3 separate regions of the Homo sapiens genome follow, and all the other regions are linked to region 1. The links are contacts of gene promoters, found by promoter capture Hi-C in blood cells and fetal thymus (Javierre and others, 2016). All regions are on one chromosome and are shown on one strand. The core of a region is centred on a gene start or on the middle of the fragment in contact, and the rest is flanking DNA. Distances in the headings are between cores, read along the strand shown.

The links. The method cuts DNA at HindIII sites, captures the fragments that hold promoters and counts their contacts. A CHiCAGO score of 5 or more calls a contact.
Region 2: a contact is called between a fragment that was not itself captured here and the fragment with the promoter of KRT39 in region 1, in 1 of 17 cell types (total CD4 T cells). The highest score is 5.6, in total CD4 T cells.
Region 3: a contact is called between a fragment that was not itself captured here and the fragment with the promoter of KRT39 in region 1, in 4 of 17 cell types (total CD8 T cells, naive CD8 T cells, activated CD4 T cells and 1 more). The highest score is 7.6, in total CD8 T cells.

What each region holds. Positions count from the first base shown.
Region 1 is chr17:40,964,068-40,968,873 of GRCh38, reverse strand. It overlaps KRT39 (keratin 39), which reads left to right and starts at 1,926. Exons shown (of 7, transcript NM_213656.4): 1 at 1,926-2,485; 2 at 4,346-4,428. The coding sequence starts at 2,018. The region is part of intron 1 of LOC107985072 (a long non-coding RNA gene); the gene reads right to left. The HindIII fragment of the contact is 5,044 bases long and covers 1-4,206 here.
Region 2 is chr17:41,559,628-41,564,433 of GRCh38, reverse strand. No RefSeq gene overlaps it. Among named protein-coding and RNA genes, the nearest start is that of LINC00974, 7.5 kb to the right of the region's middle. The HindIII fragment of the contact is 7,476 bases long and covers 1-4,806 here.
Region 3 is chr17:41,533,822-41,538,627 of GRCh38, reverse strand. No RefSeq gene overlaps it. Among named protein-coding and RNA genes, the nearest start is that of KRT19, 7.9 kb to the right of the region's middle. The HindIII fragment of the contact is 2,229 bases long and covers 1,842-4,070 here.

The DNA of each region.
Region 1 (4,806 bases), core at 677-3,176:
CCTACAGAATGGGAGAAAATTTTTGCAATCTGTCCATCTGACAAAGGGCTAATATACAGAATCTACAAGGAACTTAAACAAATTTACAAGAAAAAACAAACAACCCCATCAAAAAAATGGGCTAAGGATATAGAAAGACACTTCTCAAAAGAAGACATTTATGTGGCCAACAAACATATGAAAAAAGCTCATCATCACTGGTCACTAGAGAAATGCAAATCAAACCACAATGAGATACCATCTCACACCAGTTAGAATGACAATCATTAAAAAGTCAGGAAACAACAGATGCTGGAGAGGATGGAGAGAAATTGGAACACTTTTACACAGTTGGTGGGAGTGTAAATTAGTTCAACCAATGCAGAAGACAGTGTGGCAATTTCTTAAGGATCAAGAACCATAAATACAGTTTGACCCAGCAATCCTATTACTTGATACATACCCAAAGGATTATAAATCATTCTACTATAAAGACACATGCACATGTATGTTTATTGCAGCACTATTCACAATAGCAAAGACATGGAACCAACCCAAATGCCCATCAATGATGGACTGGATAAAGAAAATGTGGCACATATACACCATGGAATACTATACAGCCATAATAAAGGATTAGTTCATGTCCTTTGCAGGGACATGAATAAAGCTGGAAACCATCATTCTCAGCAAACTCACACAGGAACAGAAAACCAAACACTGCATGTTCTCACTCATAAGTGGGAGTTGAACAATGAGCACACATGGACACAGGGAGGGGAACATCACACCGGGGACTGTGAGGGGGTGAGGGGCTAGGGGTGGGATAGCATTAGGAGAAATACCTAATGTAGATGACAGGTTGATGGGTACAGCAAACCACCATGGCACTTGTATACCTATGTAGCAAACCTGCACGTTCTGCACATGTATCCCAGAACTCAAAGTACAAAAAATCTCATAATTCAAGAAAAAAAAAAAAGGATGAAAAGGGGCCACTAGCTGAGGATGTGGACAGCCTGTAGAAGCTGGAAAAGGCAAGAAAATGATGTTCCCCTAGAGCCTCCATAAAGGATTAGCAGCAAGTAACTTTCTGAAGAAAATGCTGAGTAAGTATTCCTCAGAAAGAAAACACACCCCTTTCAATGAATCCTATTTAAACATCCAGTATAAACCAACACTGTGATACATTTTTATCTAATGTAATACCACAAGCAAACACCAAGCACTAAAAATGTTATAAAATGTGGACTTTGGAAAACCAAAAGAGAGCTAGTCTCTTTTCCAAGAAATTTCTTATTAGCAATCAAACCCTACCTTTTCCCCATGGCTTTTATTTTATTTCATATTTTATTTATATTTTATTTTATGTTATTACATTTTATGGAAAGCTAAAACATAAATCTAGCAATTATCTTTAAAACAAGACTTTTAAAAGACTAACATTTTAATTCATACTCACATTGTCCTGACACTGAAAATGGGGAAACCATTTGGGCAGAACAAACTAAAATATTGACTTCTGATTTCTAAGTTTACCAATAATTATTAAACATTAATAGTTTCCCTTTTCTAGAGAAGAAAGGAAAAGAAGGATGAACTCATTCCTGGTTAAGCTCAGTGCCAAGTGGAGAGGTCAACAAGAATGTAATGAACTTAGTATACTCACACCTGCTTAATAATGGATGCTGTTAGGACAGTTCCTTTTGAAGACATAATTTGAAGCTCTGGGTCCAATAGACAAGTAGTAGTTATGATGGGTAATAACTTACTAACAGCCTAAATGCACATGTTTATGAGACAAATAACTCTTCTTAAGCAAGTAAAAAGCAGACTAATAAGATGTTCCTACAGGATTTGATATAAACCTGAGAAAGGAAAACATCCCACCTGTGTGACACCACGTAGAAGAGAGGCTATATAAGCACTTCAAAGAGGAAAACACCAAGAGCCTTGGAATTCAGACTCTGTGGAGGTGGCTTGAGCTTTTCATCCTGGTGACCACAGACCTGGAACAAACTAAAGCCAGACACATACTATGGACACCAAGGGCTGTACAACAACCAATTCTCCTTCAACCCCATGTCAAAACTGCTCTAGGATTACAAATGTTAGTACCATCTCTTCTAACAACGGCTGCCATCCTGGTGGCCTTACAGTCAACAACTGTCAACCAGCTGGCCACGTTCTCAGAATTCCCTGGGACCAGGGCTGCCAACCCACTCCTCGCTTTTGTCGCAAGCCCATCTACCTAATGAACAACTTCAATGCCCGTTTTTCTCTGGATGACTGCAGCTGGTATGGTGAAGGCATCAACAGTAATGAGAAGGAGACCATGCAAATCTTGAACGAGCGCCTTGCTAACTACCTGCAAAAGGTGCGAATGCTAGAACGAGAGAATGCTGAACTGGAATCTAAAATCCAGGAAGAAAGTAACAAAGAGCTCCCTGTTCTATGTCCTGATTACCTGTCTTACTACACTACCATTGAGGAGCTCCAGCAGAAGGTAAGATTCCTAAGAACCTGTTTAATCGTGTTGTGAATTAATGGTTTCCAAGCAACAGTTATTTGCTAAACTTTAATATTTTTTGTTCAGTTGATGCTGAAAATTTTTTTGAAGAATAGAAAAATTTCTTGAGTGAAATTGTCATCTTGAGGCAGCATTCAGAGTCTGATAGTATTTCTGGTCAGGCGCAGTGATGCACACCTGTAATCCTAACACTTTGGGAGGCTGAGGCAGACAGATCACTTGAGCCCAGGAGTTCTAGACCATCCTGGGCAACATGATGAAATTCCATCCTTACACACACACACACACACACACACATACACACACAAAAAAAAATTAGATGGGCGTGGTGGCACATGCCTGTGGTCCCAGCTACTTGGGAGGCTGAGGTGGGAGGATCACTTGAGCCCAAGAGGTTGAGGCTGCCATGAGCCAAGATCCTGCCACTGCACTCCAGCCCAGACAAAAGTGAGACTATGTCTTTAAAAATCAGAAACAAAAAGAAGAGTCTCATGGTGTTTCCTTTCTCCAGAAATACACTCTACCATTATAACTAGATGACTCAGGACCAAAAGATGTTAACAGCAAGTTGTTGCCATTTTTTAAATAAAAATAGGGAAACAGAGATCAGAGAAAATAAATTTTGCTTTAATGAGTTTCTAAGCAATTTAGTTTTTATCCATTTTTCAACCATCACCACCTTTTTCTCCTTTTATGCTTATGTTATCATCTCCACATTGCTTGGTTTGTTTCTACACCAAACCTAAGTTTGTTATGCACAGACGTATTCTGCTACTACATATCTGGATTTATTCAGTTTTATTCATTCAACAAATGTTTACTGAGCAGCAACAACATTGGGCCAAACATTGTTCTAGATTCTGGGAAAATATTGGTGACCTTTAAAAAGTCCCTGCCCTCATGGAGTTGACATTCTAGTGGATCATGGTATTTATATAAATTTAGGATGGATTTTATTTTATTTTTTATTTATTTATTTATGTATTTATTGAGATGGAGTCTCACTCTGTCACCAGGCTGGAGTGCAATGGCGCGATCTCTGCTCACTGCAACCTCCAGCTCCCAGGTTCAAGCGATTCTCCCTCCTCTGCCTCTCTAGTAGCTGGGTCTACAGGCACGCACCACCACACCCAGATAATTTTTGTATTTTTTTTTTTTTTTGAGACGGAGTCTCGCTCTGTCTCCCAGGCTGCAGTGCAGTGGCGCGATCTCGGCTCACTGCTAGCTCCGCTTCCTGGGTTCATGCCATTCTCCTGCCTCAGCCTCCCAAGTAGCTGGGACTACAGGCGCCCGCCACCACGCCCAGCTAATTTTTTTTTTTTTTATATTTTTAGTAGAGACGGGGTTTCACCGTGTTAGCCAGGATGGTCTTGATCTCCTGACCTCGTGATCTACCCGCCTCGGCCTCCCAAAGTGCTGGGATTACAGGCGTGAGCCACTGCGCCCGGCCAATTTTTGTATTTTTTAGTAGAGACAGGGTTTCACCATGTTGGCCAGGATGGTCTTGATCTCTTGACCTCGTGATCCGCCCGCCTCAGCCTCCCAAGTGCTGATATTACATGGGTGAGCCACTGCTCTCAGCCTGGATTTTTTAACAACAACAACAAAAAAAATACTTAAAAGTTTCTAGTTAAGTACTTTTTGCTGATCTTTTAGGAAAATAACAGGAAATCTGACTTTCTGAAGTTTTCCAAGCTTTGTGAGCATAGCTATGAAGATTAATAAAAAGTCTACTTAGCCTTCCCCTGTTACTTGACACACACACAAACCCCTTGGTTCTTAAAGAAGGAAATCTTGGTGTTTGCTTCATTTGTGTGTACAATCTCTTAATTCTAGATCTTGTGTACCAAGGCCGAGAATTCCAGACTGGTCTCGCAAATTGACAACACCAAACTGACTGCAGATGACTTGAGAGCCAAGTAAGCCCACCCAACACCGTCATCAATGACAGAGCTCACCCTGAGTCTGACCGAGATGCCCTCAACAAAATTGTCCCCATGTCTACTAACCCTCTTGCCCCAGATGATGTTGGCACAAGCCCAGAAAAGACTTTCAAATTCAATGAATGATTAAGATTAATAACTGCTCACATGTATACAGTACCTATAGTTTCTAACTTGTGAACCCATTTGATTACCTACACAATAGTTCAGTAAAATAGATAGGACTAATATATTGTTACTCTCTTTAAGGTGAGAAATCTGTGGCTTAGTGAGGCTAAGTTACTCACCCAAAGGTAAGCATAACTAGCACAAGTCAAAACCGAAACTTGGACACATGTTTTCTGAGCCCTAATC
Region 2 (4,806 bases), core at 1,069-3,568, 600 kb before region 1:
AAAGAGGCTGTTTGACTTTATCACCTGGAAGGGGAAGTCACACAGTGCCACTTCTTCTGTAGTCACAGGCCTGCCTAGATTCAAGGGAAAGGGAATAGACCTGTGGTAGGCAGAATTCTGAGATACTTTCCCAAGATTTCTGGCCCTGCTGTACACATATCTTCTTCCGGTTATTCAATCAAACACTAACCTAGGTGCTACTGTGAAGGGATTTTGGTAATTAAGTTCTGAAATGTGTTGACTTTAAGAGAGGGAGATTATCTGGCAGACCTGATTTCATCACATGAACCCTTTAAAATCCAAGAGTTTTGCCTGGCTGGTCACAGAAGTCAGAGATTTGAAGTCTGGGAAGATTTCAATGTGCCCTTGCTGGTTGAAGATGAAAGGGGGTCATGGAACAAGGAATGTGGATGGGCTCTAGGAGCTGAGAGCCAGCAAGAAAAAGGAGATTGCAGTCCTCCAGCTGCAAAGACCTGAAGTTTTCCAAGATCAAAGAAGAATTTGGAAGCAGATTACCCCCAGATGAGAATTCAGATGAGAGCTTAGCCTGGCTGACATCTTGATTTCACCCTTGTGATATCCTGCAGAGAGAATCCAATTACGCCTGTGGAACTGTCAGCTAATACATGGGTGCTATTTTAAGCTGCTGAGTTTGCAGTAATTTGTTAAGCAGAAATAGAAAGCAAATACAGACCCCGTCTCTAGATGGAGGTGTGTCCATGTCACGTTGAAGAACAGCATATGCAATGGGATATATTGATGTGGTCATTTTTGGAAAACACAAATTGCCACAGGCTGGCTCAAATCACTGGCAGAGGGGTTATGTAAGAGTACACTTAGGGAATGAAGTGACACAGAAACCCAGGGGGATTCAAGATCCTGGAATTTGTGGATATGGGAGCAGGCAGGTCATCAGTGTCTCTGGGTCAAAGGTGGCTCTAGCAAGACACCTGAGCAGTGAGAGTCTGTGATCTCTTTTCTAGCGCTCCGCTGTTAATATGCAACTGTTTACTCTTCTCTGGTTCTTTTTCTGCTACCTGCTGTCTTCCTCATCTACCATTTTACATATCTTTTTATTTATTTTATTTATTATTATTATTATTTTTTGAGACGGAGTCTCACTCTGTCGTCCAGGCTGAAATGCAGTGGCACGATCTCAGCTCAATCCAACCTCTACCTCCCGGGTTCAAGCGATTTTCTGCCTCAGTCTCCTGAGTAGCTGGAACTACAGGCACCTGCCACCACGCTGAGCTAATTTTTGTATTTTTAGTAAAGACGGGGGTTTCACCATGTTGGCCAGACTGGTCTTGAACTCTTGATCTCAGGTGATCCACTTGCCTCGGCCTCCCAAAGTGCTGGGATTACAGGTGTGAGCCACAAGGCCTGGCCCATTTTATGTATCTTTTCTCTACCTCAATTTGGGAAATTCTCCACCTTAAGTGTGAAGCTCCCCAAGGGAGAGGTCAGAAACTTGCTTTTCCGAGCTCACCTGCATCTAGGGCATGGGCCCCTGACAGCCCTGCCACTCAGGTGCGCCCGCACAAGACGTTTTTTTTTTTTTTTTAACCATGGCACCCCATTGGAGTGAAGGACTTTGATTTTGATTTAAAGGAGGTGCTGAGTGGAATTTTTTATGGCAGGAACAAGGTTGGGCAGAGATATGTGATTTTTTGAGGAAGCAATAGCAGCGGCTCTGGCAAAGACATGCAGTGCCCATCATCCATAGTTTGAGCTTCAATTTTGGTGGCCAGAAGTGACAGCAGTGGTGTGTTCCTAGAGCAATCCTTGAGTGTGATTTGGGGAATTTTTCTGTTTGCATACCCTCCAAGTTTGATTCTCTGCACATCCTGGAAAAGATGCCCAGTAGTTGCTCATTATTTCACAGGGAATACATTCAAAGATCCTGACTGGATGCCCAAAACTGTGGATAGCACCTAAATCTATCTACACTATGCTTTTTCCTACACATTCATACTTAAGATACAGTTTACTTTATAAATTAGGCAGACCAAGAGATTAACAACAATAACTAATAAAATAGAATCGTTATAACAATATACTGTAATAAAAATTATTTGAATGTGGTCTCTCTCTTTCAAAATATCTTATCATACTGTAGATCTTAGCAACCTCAGCGTATGGTTTTTTTCTTTCCGTAGTAAGTTTTGAACTGTCATCTTTTCTCTTAAAGAAAGCATTTTGCTGGCTGGGCGCGGTGGCTCATGCCTGTGATCCCAGCACTTTGGGAGGCCAAGGCTGGAGGATCACCTGAGGTCAGGAGTTTGAGACCAGCCTGACCAGTATGGAGAAACACTGTCTCTTCCAAAAATACAAAATTAGCCAGGCATGGTGGCGCATGCCTGTAATCTCAGGTACTTGGGAGGCTGAGGCAGGAGAATCGCTTGAACCCGGGAGGCAGAGGTTGAGGTAAACCGAGATCACGCCATTGTGCTCCAGCCTGGGAAACAAGAGCAAAACTCCTTTTAAGAAAAAAAAAAAAGCACTTTGTGGCTTCCCTTTGGCAAATCTGAATTATCAGCATCACTGCTCTTGCACTTTGGGGTCGTAATTAAGTAAAATAAGGGAACACAAGCACGGCAATACTGCAACAGTTGATCTGACAACTGAGACAGCTACTAAGCGACGACTAGTGGGTGGGTGGTGCATAGAGCATGGAGAGCTGGACAAAGGGATGATTCCTGTCCTGGGCTGGACAGAGTGGGGCAGTGTGAGATTTCATCATGCTCTTCAGGGCAGCACACTTCAAAACTGACAAATTGTTTATTTCTGGAATTTTCCATTTAATATTTTTGGATGACAGTTGACCACAGGTAACTGAAGCTGTGGAAAGCGAAACCATGGATAAGGGGAATGACCGTGTTGCTTTCTCTGCAGGTGAAAGCATATTTATTCTGGTACTCTTTGTTTATTGGGATAAAGAAAAAAGAATTTCCCACAGCAGGTGCCAGGGTCAATGGTGATCTGCTTTAGAAAAGGGACACAATCTGGATCAACGACTGCTGTTGGAACAACCATGTGATAAATTGTAAAATAATTCATGGCTATTCTCTAACATCTGTTCATGTTCTGCACAGAAAAACTAGGCAAGTTAACCCTAAATTTATCATTTTTTTTTTGAGACAGGGTCTCTCTCTGTTGCCCAGGCCGGTGGGCAGTGGTACAATCACAGTTCACTGAAGCCTTGACCTCCCAGGTTCAAGCAATCCTCCTACCTCAGGCTCCCAAGTAGCTGGGACTACAAGCGTGTGCCACCACGCCAGACTAATTTTTGAGGTTTTTTTTTTTTTTTTTTTTTTTTTTAAACTAGAGACAGGGATCTCACTCTATTGCCAGGGCTGATCTTACATTCCTGTGTTCTCTCCCCATCTTGCCCTTCCAAAGTGCAGGGATTACAGGCATGAGCCACCACTCCTGGCCCATCAAATCTTTCATGTGGCACTAATCTCTGTCATTCCCTTAGAGATGTAGTGTTGCTGGTCCTTTTTCTAAACCACGTAATCCTTACTGGTAAGGATCAGGATCCTTTTACTGACTATGTCTAGTCCACTCCAGACACTGGGAAATAACCACAGGATTGGTCTGGGATACCACTGGGCTCATGAGAAGCAAACTTGGGCTAAAACTCCATTTGTCATCTGATCTCTATATTGGTTAGATTCTCAATTGCAACTACCAGAAACTACTTTGCCTATTTTAACAAGTAAGGGATTTTCAAGAGCTCTAGATACCTTAGAGAATCATTAGGAGGGCTGGAGAAACAGAATCTAGGGTGATTTTTCCAGAACCCTCCAAATGACAAAGCAGAGTGGATCTGCCAAAGGAGTTGTTGCCTCTGCCAAGACCATGAAACCACCAAGTCAGATTGGAGCCTTCTGAGTCCATTCTGCACTAATTCTGGACTCAGCTGGAGTTGCAGAGCCACGCTGCTTCTGCTGTCCATACCAGTAAGCTGGATGTCCCAGGTGAACCTCATTTCCTCACCTACTTCCCTTCTAAACCAAGTCCACATGGGTGCGTCTGACTAGTAGAACCTAAATTGCTCAGCTCATCTTAGTGGCAAGGGAGGCTGGTAAATGTAGTTTTTAGATCTCCCTGGAAAAGAATAGTGACAAGATGACAGATACAACCTACACTCACATGAGCTTCCATTCTAACTGGGGAACCACAGTATTGCTCTGCATTTTCAGAGATTAGAATTGGTTTGGAGCCAGCGTCCAATCATCCCTAAAGGCCTGGGTATTTTCCTTCCCTCAGGAGTCAGCTATTCTTGTAAATACCCACAGATTCCTATGGGAAGGTCAGGGTGGCAACCCCTGCCTTCTGGACACCCAGGTTCTTGTCTGGTGTCCAGGAAGAATCAGGTCACATGAACTGTTTGAAAGGTGATGAATGCAGAAGATTTTATTGAGCATAGGGTGGCTCTCAGTGGACGTATAGTGCATGCTTGTGATGTTACTGCAGGGCCCTTCCTCAAAGCCTCCCCTTCATTCAGAGTTCTCTGGGTCTATGAGCCAATTCCGATTTTGGAATTGGAATCATGGGGCTCAAGACAGGTCTCTTACTGACCTAAAGTTTTCTTTTGTGGGGGCGGGGTAGTGAATGTGGCAGATATGGAAGACTGACTCACTCCTATCTGTTTCAACATCCTTCTGATGAGCTTTCCTATACTCAAGAGGCTGGTAATCTAAAATCTACCCTTTTCCAGATTCCCCTACAGCCATAGCTTAGGTTTTTCCAATCAGATGCACTCTGTGAGTCATGAGTTGAGTGGAGAGAGAAGTAGAG
Region 3 (4,806 bases), core at 1,707-4,206, 570 kb before region 1:
AGAGGTGAGACATGCTCACTGCTGCTTTTTTGAAAATGTAGAAAACACAGATCTTCATTAGAAATCATCTGTCTCTTGGCTGGGCGCAGTGGCTCACGCCAGTAATCCCAGCAGTTTGGAAGGCTGAGGTGGGTGGATCACTTGAGGTCAGGAGTTTGAGACCAGCCTGGCCAACATGGTGAAACGCTGCCTCTACTAACAATATAAAAATTAGCCAGGTGTGATGGCAGGCACCTGTAATCCCAGCTATTCAGGAGGCTGAGGCAGGAGAATCACTTGAACCCAAGAGGCAGAAGTTGCACTGAGCCAAGATTGCGCCACTGCATTCCAGCTTGGGTGATGGAGTAAGACTCTGTCTCAAAAAAAAAAAAGAAAAAAAAAAAAAAAAAAAAGAAAGTCGCCTCTTTCATACCAACCCCTAACTGTGGGCTCCGTCTGTGAAGGCAGGGCCCAGGTGGACACAGCCCTTGTCCTTCCCCTCCCTCAGCAGGCATCAGCGCTGGCAGAGATCGGGGTACAGTCATTGCTTGGTTAGTAGAACCTAATTCTGCCAGGACGCGTTCCAACACAGATCTAGGAGGGCCCCGGTGTGATTCCTTTCCTGGAGGTGGATTAGATAAACCACCGTCCCAGACCAGCTTCCTGACCTCAGTGCAAATAGGAGGCTCACACCTCAACCAGGAGCCATGCAAGATTCTCTCCTTCCCTTGTCCTCCCCATGAATCGTCAGCCTGACCTGCTGGCTCTGCCCTCGGGATATCCCTTGCACCAGGCCACTGTTCCTGAAGTCCTCTGATGTCTCCCCAGAACAAGCCCCCAGTGTCTCTCACCTGAACTCCATTAGAGCCTCTTATTAGATCTCCAGCTCTTTGGGCCCCACGGTCTATTCCACAGGGAGCAGCCAGGGGTGGGGAGGGCGTCCCAGTGCTCCTCTGCTCAAAGCACCATTACTCTCAAGATAAAAGCCAGCGCCTCCATTAGACCGCAGACACCGAGTGCTCTGTCCTGGCCTCCCCTGGGCTCATCTCCTGCACACTGTCATTCTGGCTCACCCCTCTTAACCACTGGGACTTCTTGGTGTTGCCTGAACAGACCAAGCTCCCTCTTCCTTAGGGATTTTGGCTTTGCTGTGCCCTTGGCTTGGAATAATCTTCCCTGGGGATCTGAGGGCTCCTTTGCCTCATTCAGGTCTCTGTTCATGTGTCACCTCCTCAGAGAGGCCTTCCCTGACCACCCCTCAATGGCCTTCCCTGCTGACCCCCTCCCTGGCTTTGCTACTCTGCCCCCTACCCCAGATGAAAGCCCCAGGAGGGCAGGCAGCTTTAGACTGCCCTGCTCTTGAAGCCCAGAGTCTAGAAGGTGCCTGGCACACAGAAGGTGGACCATAATTGGTGTTAAATGAAAAAAAATAAAAGGGCTTCAGGAGAAGGCTCTGTTCTGGCAAATAATCATTAAATGTTTACTAGTGCTGGAGTCAGCCCTGGGGCTAGATACAGAAGCTCCAAGTCTAGATGGGGAGACAGAGCTGTGGTAAGTGCTGGGCAAGTGGGTGGGGGTGGGAATGCTGACCCAGCCTGAGCGGGTCAGGGTGGACATATCAGGGAGAAGAAACCCATGCCAATGGAACTGAGAGGAGCTGGCATGGCTGCCATCCAGGTAAAGGGAGGGGGCAGGTAGGCAGGGAGGATGCTCTGGCCAACGCCGGGTGGAGGTGGCCTCCAGCATACAGCGGGTGTTCAGTGAAAATGCTTGCAGTGTCCAAGACCCCTGCATCCGAGGAGGACAATTTGAGTTTCTGGACGGGAACCTTCCCAGGTGAGGGGGAGTACAGAGCTGAAGCTTCCCCTCAGGAGTCGTGGGATCAGATGGGTTTTGAAAGGAAAGATTTTGCCTGTGGAGGGGTCTTGCTCATCTGGGACTGCCCAGAGTCTGTTCTTGAAGGAGGCAGCATCGCCACCACAGCCCACCAGGATCCTGATGGGAGGGAAGTTTGTCAGCCAGAAGGCAGCAGGGAAGCACCCAGGTGCCCTCTCCTGGGTGCTGGGAATCCGGGCAGGCACCCGGACATTTTCTTTCTCTCTGTCCTGTGTCTGGCACTCTCCTTGCCCCAGTCCAGATGGAATGGGCCACAGCTTGAAGTGGGGCAGAGGCGTCAAATGAGGCCCAAATTGAGTAGGGCAGGACAAAAGCTGAGAGAGACACCCCTGGCTAAGATCGGTGGGGGGGCCTCCCTGTGTGGAGTGAGCGTGAGCCTGCTCACGTACTCACCTCCAGGGAGAGGGAGTGAGGAGGAGGCAGGCCCCTGTCTTCCCAGGCTGTGGAATGTGGCACCTCGGGGAAGCTGGCCCCTGGACCTGGGACTATTCCTTGCAGGACTCAGCTGTCCCTCCCCACCCACACCATCTGCCCTGGTTCTGGTCGGGCTGGTTTTTCCTCCCCTGAGGACTTGGAGAGGAACACCAGGGGCCATCCTGACCTAGCTTACTTGCCCTGCCCTCCCCCTTTCCTGGGTTTCCACGTCTCAGGAAGCCATTGAGATGCAGCAGAAATGGCCAGACCTGGGCTGTGCGGAGGCTCAAGTCCCGAGAGCATCAGCCTCCTGACCCGAGTGCGGCTTTGGGCTGCTCATGACATGGCCGGCGCTGCCCTGTCCTGGCTGCTGGGCCCTTCAAGACAGTGAATAGGATTCTTCCCCATCTGGGCAAGAGCAAGGCTCCCCAAGAGACGGCATGGGTCCCAGGGCTGGGGGATGGTAGTGGCAGGGATCTTGCTCAGCTGAGACCGTCCAGGACTTGGCCAGCATCTCTGGCACACAGCAGTGCTTTGTGCAGGGTCCCTCTCTTTCATCACTCCCATTTGTCATCAGGTCATAACAGCAGGTCTTGTCTCTGTCCTTTACTCTCTAGCCCACCACTATGGCTAGATTCAGACCCTCTCATCTCTAGCATGGACTATTTTAAAACACCCTAAACTGGGTTCTTTATCCCTGGTCATCCCTGCTTCCCTTGACACATCAACCCATTTGCCACACAAAACCCACATCCCATCCCTGATGAAAATGACTTTCCATTGTCTTGCTTACAGCTCCCCCACAGCTGACCTTGTCCTCAACGACCCCCTTCCCTCCCCTCCTGCCATGGCCCAACCATATTGAATTGCCAGTAGTCTCCCAAGCTGGGCCCGGTTACTCATCTCTTCCAGGCCCCCATTCTCTTTACTCTTCTGCCTGAGAAATACCTACTGGTCTGTCAGCTTCTTGCTCAAGGGTCATGCCTCTGTAATTAAATAGCTCTCAATGCCCCCAGGCAGACATAATTCCCAGTGTCTACATACTTGATCACATTGATTGGTTTGAGGCATACCTCAATACTGGGTCAATAGCTCTAGCCTGATGGCCCACATGGTGGCTCCCACTCCAGCACCCCCTAAAGATCTTCCAGTTATTTCAGAAAGTCCCCAGGGGAATGCCTCGCATGTGCCCACAAGGTGGCTGCTGTCTTGCATAGAATACCCTCTGCTCTGCCACCAGCTGTAGCCCCACAGATCCACGCCACCACCTGGGAGAGCCTTGTTGTCTGTTGTGAGAACACCCAGGGGGGCCAACTTCAGATGCTTCCAGACGATGGATCCTTGGAGAACCAGAGTGGGAGGGCTTTCCTCAGGTGTAAGTCATCGGCTGCAAGGAGCTCTCCCTGTACTCAGACTCTTCCAAAGTTCTTCTTGTCCGTTTTGCCTTCTTGTTTCATAAAGAAGTAAAACTAGCCTGGCGGACCCAGGGGTGGGGGCACGAGGATGGAAACCCTTTCCAGGGTCTCTTTTCTCCTCACATCTAGTTCTCCCTCTTCCAAAACTTCCTCTCTCATTTCTCAATTCAAGGCTAGGGTTGGTGTGGATGAGCAGAGACAATGATGTCAGTGGTGAGTGCAGGGAGGGGAAGAGGGTATTGACTATATGAAATTTGGCTAGTTCTAAATGTCTGTGGTTTAGTGTTACTTAAGAAATTATTTACTTTAATTAACAAGAAATACTAAATACATTCTTATAAAACTTAAAACCATAGAGATTAAGCTTAGGTTCCTATTGGCTACCATCCTTCAATCAGATTCCTTCCTTACCTATGCATATATTCATACATATTCATATGGACCTTAGCAATAAGTCATCTTTTGAATGTATGTTGACATGAATTTATCATATTAAGTGTGTTGCTCTCCAACTAGATTTACTGTACCCAACAACTAGTTTTTTTTTTTTTTTCTTTTGAGATGGAGTTTCACTCTTGTCACCCAGGCTGGAGTGTAATGGCTCGATCTCAGCTCACTGCAAGCTCTGCCTCCCGGGTTCAAGCAATTCTCCTGCCTTAGCCTCCCGAGTAGCTGAGATTACAGGCACCCGCCGCCACGACTGGCTAATTTTTGTACTTTTAGTGGAGACGGGGTTTCACCATGTTGGCCAGGGTGGTCTCGAACTCCTGACCTCAGGTGATCCACCCACCTTGGCCTCCCAAAGTGCTGGGATTACAGGCGTGAGCCACCATGTCCGGCCCAATAACTAGTTCTTTAGGGTTTTCAGTGTCACTATTCATTGTCATTACTCATTCCATTTAATTTCTAGTCCTCCACAGCAGGATGTTACATAGTTACTGAACGCCTCCCCGCCATTAGTGATTGTTTGTGTCTTTGCACTGTAGCAAACAATGCTGCATAGGGCATCCTTTTATATGACTTCCTCAATACACGGGCCAGGGTTTCTTTCGGATGAACACGAAGAGTGGAACTGATGGCTCAAGAAGTGCATGAATGTTAA